Linked DNA regions of Homo sapiens: region 2 is linked to region 1. Evidence: promoter capture Hi-C in 16 types of primary human blood cells and fetal thymus (Javierre and others, 2016). All regions are on one chromosome and are shown on one strand. Each heading gives the region's core, a stretch centred on a gene start or on the middle of the fragment in contact. The rest is flanking DNA. Distances are from core to core; before and after follow the strand shown. Region 1 holds the start of MOGAT2 (monoacylglycerol O-acyltransferase 2). Region 2 overlaps UVRAG (UV radiation resistance associated).

The links. Contacts are between HindIII fragments. The CHiCAGO score rates a contact against its expected background, and 5 or more counts as called.
Region 2: a fragment that was not itself captured here is called in contact with the fragment with the promoter of MOGAT2 in region 1 in 7 of 17 cell types (neutrophils, M2 macrophages, M0 macrophages and 4 more); the score reaches 16.7 in neutrophils.

What each region holds. Positions count from the first base shown.
Region 1 is chr11:75,714,968-75,721,030 of GRCh38, reverse strand. MOGAT2 (monoacylglycerol O-acyltransferase 2) reads right to left here and starts at 3,193. Exons shown (of 6, transcript NM_025098.4): 1 at 3,052-3,193; 2 at 861-1,039. The coding sequence starts at 3,142. It overlaps LOC105369392 (a long non-coding RNA gene), which reads left to right and starts at 2,746. Exons shown (of 3, transcript XR_950316.4): 1 at 2,746-2,825. The HindIII fragment of the contact is 5,505 bases long and covers 297-5,801 here.
Region 2 is chr11:75,859,109-75,865,299 of GRCh38, reverse strand. It overlaps UVRAG (UV radiation resistance associated), which reads right to left. Exons shown (of 15, transcript NM_003369.4): 3 at 3,520-3,554. Among named protein-coding and RNA genes, the nearest start is that of UVRAG, 47 kb to the right of the region's middle. The HindIII fragment of the contact is 2,281 bases long and covers 448-2,728 here.

The DNA.
Region 1 (6,063 bases), core at 1,944-4,443:
GTCCCCACTGCCTTCCCCATCCTATCCCTTCTGGCCAATAAACCATCACTGCCTGGCTGCATAGATCAAGGCTTTAAATTGCCTGGGATTCCGTTGAAGGAGCCGAAAGATCTGCTCACTCAAATCCAGGGATCTGCTCTGCTCTGGACACAACTTCAAGTCCAGGGCCCAGCGTCCACAATGACCACGAGGTGACAGGAGTCGGAAAGCCAGAGATTTGAAGGCATGCAGAGGAGGAGGAATCAGTGTACTTACTAGATACATGGGGAGACTGAGCCTCAGAACAGGATAAAGCTTTGCCCAAAGATATACCACATGCCAGAGTTAGGGTCAGGGTAGGATCTGAGAACAATTCAGGGCTCTCTCCTCTGTCCCTTTGCCCACAGTCAGTGTACACACTTGGAAATCTGTAAAAGAACTTGCTGTGTGACCTTGGTGACATTTCCTCCATCTCTGGGTGTCAGCCTCCTCTTCTGATGAATGTTAAGTGTGAGGCTAGATGGTCCTTAGAACCTGTAAGTTTATTACCTTCACTCCCAAGCCTGGGCTGCTGATGGGTTTGTGCCTTTAAGATACATAGGCATGCCTCACACCATATAACCCACAGAACTCCTTCAAATGCTGGACATCCATCAATCCACATATTGGCCCCGCATCCCTGCAGATGCGAAACCATGATCGGAGAGAAGCTGGACTCTTCTCTAGGTCACATAGTAGCGGAAGCCCTAGCTCCTGCCTCCCAGCCCAGTACCCTCCTCAGTGCATGCAGGGCCATATTCTCCCATGGAGACGTCGGCACTCTGGCCCTGACCACACCCCAGCCAACTCCCTCCCCAACCCCAACCAGCCTCAATACTCACCGAGATGGGGAAATAGTCCTTCATGTACTTCCATATAGTCCAGCACCTGATGGCCTGGATGTGCCGGCCCCCCTGCCGTGGCTTGTCTCGGTCCAGATACCACCAGGCCGCATACAGGACAGTGAGGAGCCAGAATCTTGTAAACAGGAGGGCTATGAAGCCCACAGTGCAGATCTCGGCTGGGGAGGGAAGAAGGAGCTGTCAGGGACAGGGGTCTGAGAGGAAGGCAGGTGAGATTGCTCAGACTGAACTCTGCCCATAGGCCTGGCACTAGCAGCACTGTCCTGTCCAATCCTCGGGCCCAGGAGGAAGACAGCAGCTTCCGGGGCATTCAAAGAGGAGACAAAGTCCCTGAGAGGGACTACGGCCAGCCCAGTGTCACTGGGAGCACGCGTTGAGCCTAGGTAGGCCTAACTCCAAAGCTCACTTTCTCCCACTGCACCAGGCCGCCTAATTCACTCCATCCCCTGCCTGTCCTCCTTCTCCCCAGGAGAGTTGTTTGTACTCATTAAGTGCTCAATCAATGGGGACAACTGGTTGGATAAACTGTTCTAGTTTCCATCTTTTGGGATCTCAGAGCAAAGGGAGACCCTTTCCTGCTCTCTTTCTGTTCATCCTCTGCCCCATTTTCCCAGAGATAAATCCAGCCAGGTGCCTCCCCTTATTCAAGCCCTTCATGACTTCCCCATAACTTTGGGCACAGTCCAAGTAGCTCAGCCTGGCCTCCAGGAGCCCCAGAGCTGGCCCTGTCCCTCCCGCTCCTGCCTCTTGTCTGTGGCCACTCTGAACTACACAGTGTTCCCAAACCTGCTGAGCTCTGATTCCTTTGCCTTCAGTGACCAGTGACGTTTGTTGTTGAAAGGAGGGAGGGAGGAAGAGGCCAGCCCCTGGCCGCCCCATAATCAGGGGTGCATCAGGGCTAAGACCAGGCCTAGTGTGGAATTCCCCTCTGACTGATGGTTTCTCAGCCCTTACTGGAGGCAAATCCTTGATTGTTTGGCTCATCTGTGCAAAGGGGGTATACAGGAATGTGTAAAATGTCTAAAAACCCTTAGAACAGAGACACAGCTCAACCAGAAGGGATGCTAGGGCAGGGTCCTGGAGGGCCTGCTTTGCCAAGGGGGAGTTTTTTCACTACAGAATTGTGGGGGAGTTTCTGAGGAAGTACGTGTGTGTGTGTGTGTGTGTGAGAGAGAGAGAGAGAAAGAGAGATGGCTACTGAGCAATGTGTTCAGAGTGTGTCAATATTTTAACAACCAGGAGAGTGGTATCTGTGTACAGGCTGAACCTCAGCCCTGGAAGCAGCAGTTCCTACCTTGTCTGGTGCCAGCAGATGAAAGGAAAAACCCCACGGACTCCTAGTCATTCTCCCTTCCCAAGCCACAGATCCAGACCCTCCTAGAAAATGTTACCTTTGGCAGAGCTATTGTTTGGGCAAGGGTGATCTCTCTGGCCACAAATCAGTGGTGGGGTGGGTAAGGGGCCATGCTCATGCCCTCCAGTGTGAGCCCAGCCCAGGGTCCAGGCCAGGTCTGTGCCAAGCAGAGGTCAGCACATTTCTTCATTTCCTTCACAATAGCCCTGCAAGGCCAGCATTGTTGTCCCCGTTCTGCAGATGGTGAAGTCGAGGCTTGGAGAGGTCAGGCATGGGCTGGCTAAAGTCAGTTGCCCAGCTGAGTCTGACTCCGGGTTTCCTGGTACCCAGCATGCCCACTCCACAGTCCACTCTCAGTCTGCACCTTCTCCCCACCCTTCTTTTCTTTCCCTGTTTCTCTCACTTACCCTACTACCAGCCCCAGTTTCCTCCTCCCTGAGCGCACAGAAGGAAATCTCTCCTCTCTGAGCAGGCTGCAGAGCCCAGAACTTTCCCGTCATCGCCCAGAGGCTTTCCCACACCACTTGGCAGCCTGCAGACTGGTCTTCATCCAAGTGCCAAAGGAGAACCCACAGTGCAAGCCAGGAAGAGTAAGTAACCTGCCCAGAGCAGCAGACGGTGACTTCTACCCCACTCCACCCCCAAGAAGCCTCTGGGCAGGCCCAGGAGTTCTCTCTGGGCAGGGGCTCTGAGCGCAACAAAGCCCCCTTTAGGATAAATGTCTTGCCACCATCAATGTGCTGTGTGCACCTGGTGTGGCTGCTCTGCCCCACCTGAGTGCGGTGGTCTCCCGTCTTACAGTGCAGCCCAACTTACCCAGTGCCAAGAAGGAGAAGACAAACTGTAGGACAGCAAGTGTCTGCAGCCTGCGCTCCCACGGCATAAACAAGGGCGCGAACTCTACCATGCTGGCGGGTCAGCCTGGCTCCCGCAGGTTCTGTGAGCTCTGCTGTGGTCTGAGGCACCCACAGGTTTTTGTTCCCTCCCCAGGTTGTAGAAGCTGGCAGGGAGAGTGCCACACCCAGCCCAGCCCAGCCCAGCCCCAAGGCCTCCTTGCCCCTGCTGAGGCAGGAAATTCTATCCTACAAGAAACCTTTGAATCTACCTGCTGGAGCCTGGCTAAGGAAGGAGGAAGAGAAGGGGTTGTATAGCCTTTATCAACTTTCTCAGGCAATGCCTTATCTGCATGGCTGCCTTTCCCCAATTGCTTAAATCTTGTCCTTCCTATAACTAGGCAGGTGAAGCCCCAAGCATATGCAATCTCACCCCCTTCCCACCTATTCAATGACCTGGCCCCAAGGTCAATGGATAGGATAACCTTGTCCTGTCCATTGTTCCCCCTCCACACATATGCTGTACTAACTCCCACCTAAAAATCCCCACCCACACTGTGTCCTCCACCTCCTGCCCCATTTTTCTGCTCACTCACACAGCAAACTCTCGGAAGAGCTATCTTTCATGCCTTCCTGTCCTCACCTCCCATCTGTGGTACCACAAATGGTGGTCCACACTTCAGGTATCACCCTTCCACAAAACTGCCCTTGGCAAGTTCCCTAGTGACCTCCATGATGTTAAATCCAGTAATCAATTCTCAGATCTCATCCTGACCTATTGGCAGCATTAGATATGGTTGATCATTCCCGTTTCTTTGAAACCACTTGGCCTTTGGACACTATGCTCTCCCAGTTTTCTTCCTAGCTCTCTGGCTGCTCCCTTTGTGCCTCTCGTCTTTCACCAGGCCAGCTGTTCGAGTCCCCCTCCTCCACTCCATCCTCGGGACTTCTCTTTTCTCTCCAGTTTCTGCTCTCTGAGATCTCATCCAGGCTCACACCTTGCATTGTATTTACACAGCAAAGACTTCCAAATCTGCATCTGCAGCTCTGCTCCCTGGGGCTCTAAACTTGAATCTCTAGGTGGCTCCTTGACATCTTCACTTGAATGCCTGATAGGCACCTCCATCGTAGCATGTCTAAAGGTGAACTTGATTCCCTCCCCCACCTCCCTTCTGCCCCACTGACTCCTCCTCTGCTCTTTCCCATCTCAGTAAAGGGTAATGCCATTTACCCAGTTGCTCAGGCCAAAACCTGAGTCACACTAGATCCCTTCTGTTCTTCTCCATCCACCTCTACCAGTCACCATGTCCTATCAGTTCTTCTAAGTCCCTCCTTTTAAATGTCAACTTCAAATTGACGTATACCATACATACGGAAAAATGCACAAATCCTAAGCGGACAGAGAAATGTCTTTTCACAAAGTGAAAGTTATCACCACTCTGATCGACAAACAGAACTTACCTAGCACCCCTTCTGGCCTTGCCAGTCACTGCTCTCCTCCCTGTAGCTCAGCACCATCCTCATCTCTGTTCTTGAACTTTATGAAAACTGAATCATTTAGTGTATACTCTTTTGAGACATCATATGTGCCTGTATTGCCTTTGTTTTCATTGCTGTATAGCATTCCATTGTGTGAATATGCCACAAAGTGTCCATTTGGACGCTGACAGGCATTTGGGCTGTCACCTGTTTCTGGCTATTATGAATATTGCTGCTACGAACATTCCTGTACATGTCTTTCAGTACACATCTATACACATTTCTGTTGGGTATGTGCCTGGAAATAGAATTGATGGGTCTCATGGTAGATAGCCATAGAGTTTTCCAAAGTGGTTGTACAAATCTACACTCCCATAGCCTTATATAAGAATTCCGAGTTCTGAATTTTGGTGGGTGTGTAGTGGTCCTTCATTGTGGTTATAGCATTTTCCTAACAACTAATAAATATAAGCACATTTTAATATGCTTACTGACCATTTGGATATCATTTTCTATGACCTTCTTGTTCTAGTGTTTTGTTGATTTCAGTCTCTTGAACTGAACAGCTGCTGTCTACCTCCACAGCCAGCCTCTTTTATAGACTGGCTCTGTCTTCCTTATTGGCCTCTCCGTTTACTTTCTATCCTCATTCTCCTCTCCACAATTTCAACACAGCAGGAGAAACTGCTGGGTTTATGAATATGTGAATGTTCAAGTTTGGGAGTAGAGCCAAACTGTTTTCCAAAATAATACATCAAGGTATAGTCTCCCCAAGAATCGAGAGACCCCACCCCCACCCCCATGGATCTGCTCTGACCCTTGGTATGGTCAGACTTCTTCTTGTCTTGCTAGGGTATGAAATGAGACCAAATTTTACTCTTGATTTTCATTTTCTTATCACTAATTTTTTTTTTTTGAAACCAAATCTCCCACTGTCGCCCGGGCTGGAGTGCACTGGCACCATCTCGGCTCACTGTAACCTCTGCCTCCCGGGTTCAAGCCATTCTCCTGCCTCAGCCTCCCAAGTAGCTGGGACTACAGGTGCCCACCACCATGCCTGGCTAATTTTTGTATTTTTAGTAGAGATGGGGTTTTACCATATTGGTCAGGCCGGTCTCAAACTCCTGACCTCAGGCGATTCGCCCGCCTTGGCCTCCCAAAGTGCTGGGATTACAGGCGTGAGCCACCGCGCCCGGCCTACACTAATGTTGAACATCTCTTTATTTATGGGCATTTCCTCTTCTGTGAAAAGCTTGGTCTTTATTTTTGCCCAATTCTCTGGAGTGTTGTTTGTGCTTTTCATAATCATTTGTACTTCGTTATGTACTCAGGATATTAACCCTTTGGTGTGGCATATATATTGTAAATCTCTTCTCCCAGTTTCTAGCTTGTCTTTTTTTTTTTTTTGAGAAGGAGTCTCACTCTGTTGCCAGGCAGGAGTGAAGTGGCACGATCCCGGCTCACTGCTGCCTCCACCTCCCAGGTTCAAGTGATTCTCCTGTCTCAGCCTCTCAAG
Region 2 (6,191 bases), core at 339-2,838, 150 kb before region 1:
TTTTTTTTTTTTGAGATGGAGTTTCACTCTTGTTGCCCAGGCTGGAGTGCAACAGCACGATCTCGGCTCACCGCAACCTCCGCCTCTCAGGTTCAAGCAATTCTCCTGCCTCAGCCTCCCGAGTAGCTGAGATTACAGGCATGTGCCACCACGCCCAGCTAATTTTATATTTTTAGTAGAGATGGGGATTCTCCATGTTGGTCAGGCTGGTCTCAAACTTCTGACCTCAGATGATCCGCCCGCCTCAGCCTCCCAAAGTGCTGGGATTACAGGCGTAGGCCACCACACTCGGCCTCTTTTTAATCTTGAGTCCATTTTTCCATGTCTCCTTTGACGTCAGAGTGATGAAACCAAGCCACTCTGGTCTAAGAACCAAGCTCAGAATATAAACAAGGAACAACATTCTGTATCTCAAAGTTACATGAGTGAAAAAGATACTTACAAGCTTATCAAAGTCCAACTTAGTTCACCAGAGTGAAAATTTACTCAAAGCCTTAATTAGAAATAAAGTATTCAAATCTTTGCCTAATCCTTTAGTATCTAATTGAAGATTTGCAGTTTCAGGATATAACTTCGAAGTTAATAAATATCCTTAGGGAAGAATTCATTTATTCAAGAAACATTTGCTGAGCGTCTTCTGTGTGCCAAGCACAATGGTAACAAATAAATACAAAAGCATTTAAACGACTAACTATTCAGCAAATATCACAATAGCTTAAAAATCGCAAAATCCTAAACAGGAAAGAAACCAACCAATTCTGCTGTTGACCTGGCAGTGCTTCTTCAGAGGCAGCAAGAAGGGCAGTAACAACGTGCCATCTCTGGCATATTCTCTGAGGGTTGTTGACTCCTGTACTGCCCAATGCCCATCAATCTGAACCAATCACAATGAATTAGCAAAAAGCTAAGAAAAAAGAGCTCCCTCAGAAAGAAAGAGTTAATTAGGCTGGGCACAGTGGCTCATGCCTGTAATCCCAGCACTTTGGGAGGCTGAGTTAGGCGGATTGCTTGAGGTCAGGAGTTCCAGGCCAGCCTGGGTAACATGGTGAAACCCTGTCTCTACAAAAAATACAAAAATTAGTCAGGCATGGTGGTTCATGCCTGTAGTCCCAGCTCCTTGGGAGGCTGAGGTAAGAGGATCGCCTCAGCTCACAAGGTGGAGGTTGCAGTGAGCTGAGATCATGCTACTGCACTCCAGCCTGGGTGATAGAGAGACCCTGTCTCAAAAAAAAAAAAAAAGTTAATAGAACCTTTATTAAGATATAAAAGAAAAAAAAAGAATCCTTGCCAAAATCTCAAAGAATACCTTTAAAAGGAACATCAAAAAATTAATATTTGTCAAACAACTACCCAATAGAAATACACTAGGAACTAAGGGGATATAAAGACATACAGTCTGTGACCTCCAGGAGATTTGATCTACTTTGTGAAACAGAATGTCCATGAAATCACAATGCAAGCAAACACTGTATGAGGTACATTCGGAAAACAATTATAGTATAAACTGTGAGTTGAAAGGGACCTACAAGTGTTTTAGTCCAATCCTCCCCCTTGTCTTGAATCCATTCTACAGTATTCTTTGGAGACAATATTCCACCTAAGTGCACAAAGGATGAAGGTATCATGACCTCACAGATAGCTCCAAAGCAATTGAAGATGGAGGCCAAAAGGAGTTGAAGATAGGAGTTAACATTCAGAGATCTTTAGAAATATGGATTTGGGAGCCAAGGGAAGATCTAATAAATCCAATACTAATAATGCAGAACAATACACTAAAGTGCCATTATGACATAGGGTCTATTATTATGACATAGGGTCTATTATAACACAAATCTGGGGGAAAAGCAATGGATATTAAAAAACCATCCCCAACATTTGACTATGGAAAAGAGAACAGAATAAATGAACACAAAATTCTGTTCTATCTTCCCCATAATCACTCCTAGCTCTTAACTGTCTGCAAACTATTTCTGTTTCCACCTGAGCAAGGAGAGGAGGAAAAACTAATATTTACTCAGTAACTATTATACATCAAGCATGATGCTAGGCACTTATTTTATATCATATAATATACGTAGAACCAGAGCTTTACTGGTGATGGGACCTCCCCAGAGATGGACTCAAGGAACTGTCTGGCCTAGAATCCAAATCTATTGATATTTTAGAGACATTTCAAAGACAGCTTGATGAAGAGGAAAGAGTAGAGACAAAGACAGAAGGTCTAGATTGGGGTTCTGGTCCTGCAGTCCTCTGACTCTGCAAAAGTTGTTGGAACTCTCTGGGTACCAGCTTCCTAAGATCTGCCCCATCTACTTTACAGGTTGTTCTAAGGATCAAAATGGGATAACATGTAAATACAACACATCATTGATAACCCTTTATTCATTTAACAAGTAGTTACTGAGCATCTATACTATTCTAGACTCCAGGGTAACAGGAGCAGCGAGATTGGCAGGGCCCGTGCTTTCATGGAACTTATGTTCTAGCAGGTGGGAGGCAGTTCATAAACACAAACAAGTAAGCAAGCAAGAGTTTCCAACAGTGATGAACACTTTAAAGAAAATAAAACAGGGTCATGAAAAAGCATGACTGGGGAAAGAGAACTGCTCTAGATGAGATAGCCATAGAAGGTCTTGCTGAAGTGACATAGCTGAGACCTTGAAGACCTCTTCAGTCAAGCGAACAGCTGAGGAAACAAGTGTTCTAGACATAAGGAACAAGATAAGCTTTGTGTGTTTGAAGCACTGAAAGAGGTACACCTGGAACACAATGAGTGCGGAAAAGAGGAGGAGATGAGGTGGAAAAGCAGACAAGGGCCAAATCCAAGATGGTACTGGACCATTACTAAGATATTTTCATTACCAGAAAGGTCTTCTTTGTTTTCAACACAGCCTAATAAATTGAGCCATTTATGCAAATATCCAGTGTATACATTATCAAAAGTAGGATATTTACAACTTTCCAACTGAGCAATGCCACTGCCAAGAAACAAGTAGGAGTATCCTATACAAAAGCCCGAGGCATAAAATTCTTAAGAACTATATCTGAACAAAGATATCATTTATTATGACATATGGCGAGTGAAATAATCAGAAACTTATTTATAGGAAATGGAAGTGAGAAAACTATAGAATTTGAGTTTTTATCATTTAAAGTTCTTAACAGAAAAATCAGTTCATTCAGTAAATATTTTTTTCTTTTTTTATTTTATTATTATTATACTGTAAGTTTTAGGGTACATGTACACAACGTGCCAGTTTGTTACATACGTATACATGTGCCATGTCGGTGTGCTACACCCATTAACTTGTCATTTCATTCAGTAAATATTTATCAAGCACCTACTACATAAGCACTAGAGATACAGCAATGAACAAAACAATGATGATTTAACAATTGAGCAGATCCGTTAAAGTATCATAAAACCAGAGCTGAACCTCAACTTATTTTACATTTCTGCATTTTCTGAAAACAGGTGTATATACTTAGTCATATGTACCCGTCAGAAAGCAAACTTACCAAGGAATTCTTAATCACTTCACTTCTATAAAATTCTGGAAAAGAAGAAAAAAGAACAATAAGTGATATGAAAGAAAATAAGCCCATTAACCAACTGTTAATCCTCTAATTTTTTTAACATATGTTGCAGTAAAACATTTAAAATATTTTCAAGGGATTTATTCTCTCTATATCTTTATCTGTTAAAAAAAAAAGTAAAAATTCAATGAAAGTGTTTTAAAGGGAAAAAAATTCAGTAAAGAAGGATAAAACCTTTCAGATTTGCTTTAGTGATTATTACCTTACTGACTCCTTTTTCCTCCAATTCTAATTTGAGCCCTTAAAAGCTCCAACCTTCTTCCTTCCCCGCTTCCACCCTCACAACTGACTCCATCCGCTCTGTTTTTCTCAAACATCTCGAATGATTACCCATTGCAGTACTGTGGAGTGAATACTGATGTAGGTTACCTGGTTGCTAGTGTTTTAATCTAGGTTAACTGGTTGACAGTTTTGGTTAAAACACTAGCAACCGGGTGACTTAAGTCCTACTTCTACCTCTGTCACTAACACTATGTCTCTTTAATTCCCCTGGGCTCATTATTGCTCTAAGACAACTTAGAGAATTGAACAGATAATTGAAGGTCCTTGGTAAGCATTAAAATTTCATGACTCTACAAGCCTTCATGTATGTTGGAAAAGGTCACAAAACTCAAAGATGCAATCAAAATGTGTCAGAAGTTCAGACACTCCTGAAAACCTTCCAATATTCCCTCTGCTTATCCTGCCCAAGTCATCTCCATGCTGCTCTTATGGCCAACAGGATGAAACCCCATCTCTACTAAAAATACAAAAATTAGGTGTGGTGGCACATGCTTGTAATCCCTGCTACTTGGGAGGCTGAAGCAGGAGAATTGCTTGAACCCAGGAGACAGAGGCTGCAGTGGGTAGAATTGCACTACTGCACTCCAGCCTGGGTGACAGAGTGAGACTCCATCTAAAAAAAAAAAAGAAAAGAAAAGAAAAGAAATTGCACGCTCAAAGAACAATTTGACTTTGATAGATATTGCCAAATTGTTACATACAAATATTATACTAATTTACAATACCACTTATGAAAAAGTCTGTTTCTCCAACACTATGAAACCGTAAGTATTGTTCTTTTCATTTTATCCTCAAATGGTTAACCAATTATTCCAACCATTAACTGACAATACAAACTTAGAAATGTATGTATTTATGTATACATATACATATATCCTAACATACACGCACCATACATTTTTCAAAAAACAAAAGCATAAGGGATTTAAAACTATTGTTTTTTATTACAGGGTATTTTTACATAATACTGTATATATTCTTGTGTTGTTTGAATTAAAGTATATATTACTGTTAAGTCAGTGAAAAACACAAGAAAGATAATCCCTTTTTCTTTTGAGAAAGCGAATTCCTTAGCTTAATCTGCAAAGTGTCTAAATTAAACAGTTTTTGCAATACATATTTCTAGCTCTAAGATGAGTGGTATCATTCCTTCTTCCAAAACTTTGTTAACTTGGGGGCTGGGTGTGGTGGCTCACGCCTGTAATCCCAGCACTTTGGGAGGCTGAGGCGGGCAGATCACCTGAAGTCAGCAGTTCAAGACCAGTCTGGCCAACATGGTGAAATCCTGTCTCTACTAAAAATACAAAAATTAGCCAGGTGTGGTGGTGGGTGCCTGTAATCCCAGCTACTGGGGAGGCTGAGGCAGTACAATCACTTGAACCCAGAAGGTGGAGGTTGCAGTGAGCTGAGATTGCACATTGCACTTCAGCCTGAGCGAGAGCAAAACTCCATCTCAAAATAAATAAATAAATAAAACTTTGTTACCTGGCTGAATAAATCAAACAAAACAATTCGCCTTCTCCAGCAGACCCTCAAAATGAACATGCCAATGTAAATGAAGAGAGTTTAACAAAGGAGCCATACAATTTGGAAAGAAATTGCTGAGTATGAGGTTATTTCTAATATGACAAACATGAACCTACACTGTGTAGCATTCTATTGCATCTAAAATATTATCAATAAAATTTATAGCACAATATAAAAAAATGAGTGAATGTAGAGTTAAAAAAAAATAGTTCCAGTCCTCAATCTACCTCAATCTTTGTGACCCTGGATAGGTCAATTAACCTTTATGGCCCACAATTTCTTCATCTTTCAAAGGAGAATGACACCTGGAATATAATAGGGTTGTTACGAGGCTGAAATAAAATAATGTATTTAAAATATTTTATAATTTTTATTGTTATTGTTTAAGTTTTATTGCTTAAAACAAAACCTAAAATTATTTAAAACAAAATTAATAAAATTTTATTAATAAAATTGTTTAGTTTTTTTCCATTCAATGTGAGTAAAATCATACAAGGAAATTTTCTTTTTTTTTTTTTGAGACAGGGTCTCACTCTGTCACCCAGGCTGGAGTGCAGTGGCGTGATCTCGGCTCACCGCAACCTCCGCCTCCCGGGTTCAAGTGATTCTCCAGCCCCAACCTCCTGAGTAGCTGGGATTGCAGGTGCACACCACCACCGCCCGGCTAATTTTTGTATTTTTAGTAGAGAAGAGGTTTCGCCATGTTGGCCAGGCTCGTCTTGAACTCCTGACCTCAAATGATCCACACGCCTCGGCCTCCCAAAGTGCTGGGATTACAGGCGTGA